2 separate regions of the Homo sapiens genome follow, and region 2 is linked to region 1. The links are contacts of gene promoters, found by promoter capture Hi-C in blood cells and fetal thymus (Javierre and others, 2016). All regions are on one chromosome and are shown on one strand. The core of a region is centred on a gene start or on the middle of the fragment in contact, and the rest is flanking DNA. Distances in the headings are between cores, read along the strand shown. Region 1 holds the start of GCFC2 (GC-rich sequence DNA-binding factor 2). Region 2 overlaps LINC01291 (long intergenic non-protein coding RNA 1291).

Region 1 (3,505 bases), core at 739-3,238:
AGAGGCTGTATTTTCTTCAAATACTTCAACCAAAACAAAATAGCACAAGAGATTAAAAGCAGAAACACCTATGACAATTCATCTGTCTTCTATTAATATTTTGCCAGACATTAAAGAGATCTGTAAATTGAAAACAATGCTACTCTTCCTTTTTTGGGGTAATACTTTTCACAAAAATCTTACTTATCCTTACATGTAATAGATTTTTTGTAAGTGAATTAATAAATTTTATTTTTAGTGTGATAAATATTGATAGGTATAACCTACTGAAACAAAAGCTCTTTGGAATCCTTAATCATTTCTAAGAGTCTAAAAGAGGTCCAATTCCCAAAGAGTTTGAGAACCACTATTCTAGAAGGCAAGAGAAAAGGAACTCCTGACTTCAACTTTCATCTACAAAGTTTAACCAGAAAACAAATATAAAAGGTCATGAAAACTTTAGACAAATAGAAGGTCACAAGAAAGACCAAGAAATCACGAAGATCATAAACCTGGAGGACATTATGTTACATGAAATAAGACAGGCACAGAGAGACAAACACCACATGATCTCACATATGTAATCTAAAAAAGTGGAAATCAGAAATCACAGAAGCAGAGAGTCGAGTAGTGGTTAGAAGGGACTGAGTGAGGTTGAGGGTAGTTGGGAAGATACTGGTCAAAGGGCACACATTTTAATTAGACAAGAGGAATTCTATTCTACAACACGGTGACTAAAATTAATAACAATGCATTGCATACTTGAAAATTAGTAAGAGTAGATAGTAAGTGTTCTCACCACAAAAAAAAGTAAGTACCTAAGGTAAAGCAAATGTTAATTAGCTCCATTTAGTCACTGTAGACACATTTCAAACATCATGTTGTACACTATAAGTATATACATTTTTTACTTCTCAATAAATTAATAAAAATCACTTTAATGACAATAAAAAATAATAGGAAGATTTTAGCTCTCAAGACTAACCAAAAACCGTATTCCTCATTAAGCTACAATTCCAACTCAGAGCAGCACATTTTATTTAAACAACTTTATGCTGCCTTACACCTGTATTTAAGAACTCAAAGGTACTTCAAAATGACGACACTATATCTAACACCATTACTGGTACCATCTACAGTGTCATGAATCTCTATCATGCTTCTTTGTGTTGTATATATTACTATTAGTTTTTGCAAATAACTGGTGAAAAAAGAAAATAAACAAAGGGGAATGTCCCAAAACCTAGATTCCTGTACTACTCTGGCTAAATGTTTTCAAGAAAGATAAGTTGGTCAAGTGTCTAAAAGGTACATATAACTTCTGCCCACTTAATAGTATTATAAATTATTGAACTTTGTTGTGACAGTTTAGGTTCTTCATAAACTTTGATAACTGTGTTAGTTATAACTGATGGAGTCAACTGATGGTGAAAACGAAGAGCCTCCCAACTGTACACGATTGTTTTATTTCCCCCAAGGAGTCCAAAAGGCAGATGCAGATAGCGGGCAAGTGCTCGAGCTATTTTCTCGCTCACTACCTTCTGGATAAGTCTTTCTGGATAAGACTCAGCATGGCTTGTGGTCGGCAGCAAGTTATAGAACCCCCAGAGAAGGATCCAGAGACCCCGCGGCCCCTTCCCGCCCTGTGCCGTCACCTCCCCGCTTCCCCGCGTCTCCCTGGACACCTGAGCCTTCGTCCGCGCGGGGAGCCGCTTTGGTGGCACGCCGGGAGCTCGCCCAGACCCGGCCCCGGCCACGAGGGCCCCGAACCCGGTGGGGCAGTCCCGCCACCTGCGCGCGGCCTCCTCCAGAGGGCGGCTCTTCCTCCGCAGAACCCGGGACCGGAAGTTCCCTCGGCGCCCCAGGCTCAGCAGGCGACTCCTCGGCGCCATCGCTGTCGCTGGAATCAGCCGCGCGCTGCCGAAAAGTCCTTTTCGGCCTGTGAGCCATGGCCGAGGCCCGAGCGCCCGGCGCCCTAGAACCCGCTGAACCGCAAGCCGCAGCTTCAGTGCCCGCCCCCTAGGGCGCGCTCCCGCCGCGCCTGGCCGCCGAGTGCGCGCGCCCGTCCCGCCTGCCTTCTGCTCACCGCTACTCTGTCTGCGCCTGCGTGCTTTGGCTCCCTGGATCTGGTAGGCCGAGTTCTGTTCTGGGGCCTGAGTTTGCAAAGCATTCCCTTTGCCAGGTTAGGTTGCGTGGACTGACACCTTAGAGATTTTCACGGCCTATCCGGTCTGAGTCCCACGGAGAGCAGAACTCACGTGCTGTCCTTGTGCAAACCCCATCCAGAAATCAAGCGTTATGCTTTCCGTCCTGGACTGGAGCCAGATCCGTTGTCTTTTACTTTCTGGAGAGAGTGCCCCCTCCAACCAAGATTTAAAACAAACGAAACCCCAGCAGTGTGAGGCTCGGGGTAGGAGGAGATGCCTTTGAGAACAAAACCATAAAGTCTGTACATAAACAATGCATACAGACTAGCAAAAATCAAATGACTTCCCCCAGGCAGCAGGGCTTCAAGAGAGCCTGGTTAAATGTTTTCACCCTTAAAGAAACTATCTAAAAACAAAAAGCTATTGTCTGACGCAAATTTGTTCTATATTCATCAAGCTCTGTCTACTACTGTATCTGTATGGTAGAAATACTATATAATGTTGAGCTACTGCACACCTGTTATCAACTCCATGTTTAGTGGCGTCATATTGAGAGGTGACAGCGGGCCAGCTGGAGTTCCGGGTGGGCATGGGCTTGGCGGGCCTGCACTCGGAGCAGCCGGCCGGCCCTGCCAGCCCCGGGCAGTGAGGGACTTGGCACCCGGGCCAGCGGCTACAGAGGGTGTACTGGGTCCCCTAGCAGTGCCGGCCCACCGGCGCTGTGCTCGATTTCTCGCCGGGCCTTAGCTGCCTTCCCGCGGTGCAGGGCTCGGGACCTGCAGCCCGCCATGCCTGAGCCTCCCATCCACTCCATGGGCTCCTGTGCTGCCCGAGCATCCCCGACGAGCACCACCCCCTGCTCCACGGCGCCCAGTCCCATCGACCACCCAAGGGCTGAGGAGTACGAGCGCACGGCGCCGGACTGGCAGGCAGCTCCACCTGCAGCCCCGGTGCGGGATCCACTAGGTGAAGCCAGTTGGGCTCCTGAGTCTGGTGGGGACATAGAGAGTCTTTATGTCTAGCTCAGGGATTGTAAATACACCAATCAGCACTCTGTATCTGGCTCAAGGTTTGTAAACACACCAATCAGCACCCTGTGTTTAGCTCAAGGTTTATGAGTGCACCAATCGACACTCTGTATCTAGCTGCTCTGGTGGGGCCTTGGAGAACCTTTATGTCTAGCTCAGGGATTGTAAAAACACCAATCGGCACTCTGTATCTAGCTCAAGGTTTGTAAACCCACCAATCAGCACCCTGTGTTTAGCTCAAGGTTTGTGAGTGCACCAATAGACATTCTATCTAGCTGCTCTGGTGAGGCCTTGGAGAACCTGTGTGTGGAAACTCTGTATCTAACTAATCTGATGGGGATGTGGAGAACT
Region 2 (3,505 bases), core at 663-3,162, 770 kb before region 1:
TGCTGACTTGAGGAGACCTCCCCTAAGAACAGACCCTCCCCTCAGGGCTGCCTTCAGCGATGATGATTGACGCTGGCAAGTCAGTCAAGTGGGAAGTTTGCAGCACACACGGCTCAAAGGACTCACCCAGTTTGCCCTGTTGGAGGATGTTAACCTTTGCACACTATTTTTGACATTTAATTTTTCCTTCCATTTAGTGCATGACTCTTTTTTTGTCTTTCTAGTAAATTCATTTAGTTAGTATTATTCTTTGCCTATTTTGTCTTTTAAACTTCTGGTTTTTAATCTTTCGTATTTTATATTATTTATTCTTGGTGTTCATGCTTCTTATTCTCTTTTCTGCTATTTTATCTTATTGTTGTGATAATAGTATATTTGCAGTAAGCTCCTTTTACTAACTTCATTTATTTCTACATAATGTTTTATCTGGCTTTGACCACAACTATATAAGGGGACAGCAAAGTGGAGCCACAAATGGGAAGATTGTGAAGAGGGCCCTTGACCAAATAAAGAGGAAACCTTTTCCCTGAAGAGGACTTTTCAGCAACCCAACTAATTCACTCATTTTTCTCAAAGTTGAATTTTCTTCCACAAAAACCCCTTGACTTTGTTATTGAGTAGATCCTCAGGCCTAGGAAAATAATGTCTACATCGACCAAGGAGATATCTGAACTACCAGTACTTCCTGCAGCATCTTTGTTTTGGTTGGCCTGGGCAGGTGGTGGGGCACGGGGGTGAAGGGAGGGGTCTGAGGTGGGTAGAAAACAAGGGTATCCCCAGGGCTATGGGAGGAAGGTCTAGTGGACTGGAACCATTGTATCTGTCGATTAGTGGAGGCAATCATATTTGTGATCCTTGAGCTAATGGTCTAGTAAGACTATAAACTTGTTCATAATTAAAGCTGGCAAGAGGGTTCTTACCCCAGGTAATGAGACAAGAGTGAACCACAGGAGGAAGCCAGCACAGAGACCGTATGTAATGAGTCCCTTCATGGGAAAGGGATGGAAAACAGTCCTCAGGCTAGCAGCAGAGGGAGTGCTGTCTGTTGTGGGTCTTGACCTGCTTAAGAGGTCTGACTTGAGGTGAGGCTGAAAGACAGCCCCGCTGGGGGCTTCAAGATAACGATGGACGGATAGAGTTCTCTCACCGCTGAATATCTCCTAAGGCATTAGTAAAACACTATTTAAATATTTCCTCTGTAACTCAGTTGTGCTATTAAAGCTCTGTTTCTCAAAGTAGGTCTGTAGATGTTCTTGAGAGAGTGAGTGTTTCATGAGAATTTTCAAATTTTCTGCTTTCGTTTTGAAGATAATCTTAAAGAAATAAAATCAAAATGTTCTACTACATTATTTTTAGTGCTGAAGGCTGAGTTTGGTGCCAAATGAAGAACAAATAACATCACGGCATGCTATGGAAATGTCGATTTTGCATTAAGTTTGAATAGAGAAAGATGTGGGAAAATTGATCAATTTTGTGGCCCAAAGGTAGTACAGACATCATTAGTTCAAAATGTCTTCTGTCATAGCAGTGGCATATCATGTTGAGAAGTTATTGTGAGACATACCAACTTGAACTGTCATTCAATAGCAGGAAAGAATACTGTTATTTTTATTCAATAGTATTTTTAATGTTAATCTTCAGTATTTTTATTATTATGTACTTATTGTGGTGCACTATTAAATTTATCAGCCCCTCAAACTAATGGATTAGTAGTTAAACAAGCTTATTTACCAAAAACGATTAATCCTACGATAACTTGAAGAAAGACTTAAGATATGCTTCCAGTATTGTTCAAAGTCAAAAGAATCAAGAGGACAGAAAGTGAAGCATAAAACATACAAATAGTAGGTGTATTAAACCCAACGCCAGCAATTTAGTTCCAGCAAAATATCATTTATCACACTGATGTTTTCTATATGAACTCTAGTGGCTTTTGTATGTTTGCTTGTTTTTAATTTGCAGCTTTGCTTGAGTTTTGAAGTAATTTAAGAGCTATATGTATGGGAAATTTATATCTGTTCATTTTGAAGTAACACAATAAAAATAATGTAGAGCAACAGTAGGATTTTATGGGAGTTTTTTTTTATCTTTTAAACATTATTCAAGCTTAAAAAATCTATGACAGAGAATTAATGGGAGGCTTTTATGTCTACTCTTTCAGTCTCAGGCTAACTGGGCCATAACACCTCTTCAGGCTGGGGTTGGGGTAATGGAAGCAATTAATGAAAGACAAGGAAAGAAATCGGGGATGAGTTAGATATTTGTGGACCAGTTCATCCTCTGAATGTGGATAACTACTACTTAGTCACAATCTTGGTGAATTTTGTTTTATTTTGAAAATCTAATATTAGGATATCTGAGTTCTAAGAAAACCAGGAGAGACTTGTAAGTGTTGACAAAACTTAATAGAGTAAAAGTAGATATTGGGGTAGGCGCAGAAAACTGGAAATTTAGGTTCATAGAACTGAGGTGAAATGTGTGTGTGACTGGAACAAACCTGTGTGTGTGTGTGTGTGTGTGAGCTTGTGTATTCATGGTGAAGTTCTCAATAAATTTGCCTACAATTGTGTGTGGCTGGTGGATGGGCTGTCTGGATGAATGGCATCACCCATGCACCAGACTTCTTTCCCTAAAAGTGTTTGTTCTGGGGGCTTTCCTGGTTGTCTCAGGTGTAAGTTCAGATGTACTCTAGGATTTTCTTGAGGTAGAAAACAAGATTCCATGACTGCTTTTCAGGACTGTTACTTTCCATTGCAACCAAATGTTGGAGTGACCATCGTGCTAGCGGGAGGCCAGCACTCTTTCTACTACCTCTCTCACTGTTTATTTCAGTTCTTTCTTGATTGCTGTAAACACATGTATGGCATGGACAGCCAGGTCTTGGTCAGGGTTAATCTAGGAAGGGTGAAAGGCAAAGTGAATCCAGATAGATAGATGTCATTAGAGTGAGAATGCCAGGGATTAATGGCATTTGTGACTTCATGGGGCCTCAGATAGCCACTTTCCAATTTTATGAATGGATACTACATTTACATAGAAAAACAGCATCTGCTCTCCCCAGTGCTTAGCGGTGATCAGTGTAAGTCTTGGAATGCCAGAGGGTGATCAACTGATGCTTTTAGCTGCTTGTAGTTCCTCCGTGTACTGGTCAGCTACAGGGTGGGAGTTCTCTGATATACAGAAACATGCCACGGATGCTGTGGAATGGACTCCTCCGGATGCAGTAACAGGGTGATAGTGCAAGTGCATTATCTGTTCAATGAGCAGCAGCAGTACTACAGGCTTAGGACCCGTTCAATACATTCTCCCTGACTCTATCAGCGAGTGATGGGTGGAACAAAGGTGAACTGGAAAATGGAGAGGCTTTGAGTAATACCTTCCAAAATAAGAATACAAATTGAGATCTGAGGTTTTCCTACTCTACGTTCTTACGATAACCCATAGTTTTCTTTTGTTACCTATAATAGTTTATAATGACATATTTATGCATTTATTTGGTTAATGT

The links. The method cuts DNA at HindIII sites, captures the fragments that hold promoters and counts their contacts. A CHiCAGO score of 5 or more calls a contact.
Region 2: a contact is called between a fragment that was not itself captured here and the fragment with the promoter of GCFC2 in region 1, in 1 of 17 cell types (naive CD8 T cells). The highest score is 5.3, in naive CD8 T cells.

Annotation. Positions count from the first base shown.
Region 1 is chr2:75,708,927-75,712,431 of GRCh38, forward strand. GCFC2 (GC-rich sequence DNA-binding factor 2) reads right to left here and starts at 1,989. Exons shown (of 17, transcript NM_003203.5): 1 at 1,665-1,989. The coding sequence starts at 1,929. LOC105374813 (a long non-coding RNA gene) reads left to right here and starts at 2,013. Exons shown (of 3, transcript XR_940260.2): 1 at 2,013-2,108. RefSeq lists a silencer at 1,521-1,820 and an enhancer at 2,799-3,370. The HindIII fragment of the contact is 8,873 bases long and covers 1-3,505 here.
Region 2 is chr2:74,941,436-74,944,940 of GRCh38, forward strand. It overlaps LINC01291 (long intergenic non-protein coding RNA 1291), which reads left to right. Exons shown (of 5, transcript NR_189601.1): 5 at 1-2,059. All of the region lies in intron 1 of LOC105374809 (a long non-coding RNA gene), which reads right to left. Among named protein-coding and RNA genes, the nearest start is that of POLE4, 15 kb to the right of the region's middle. The HindIII fragment of the contact is 384 bases long and covers 1,721-2,104 here.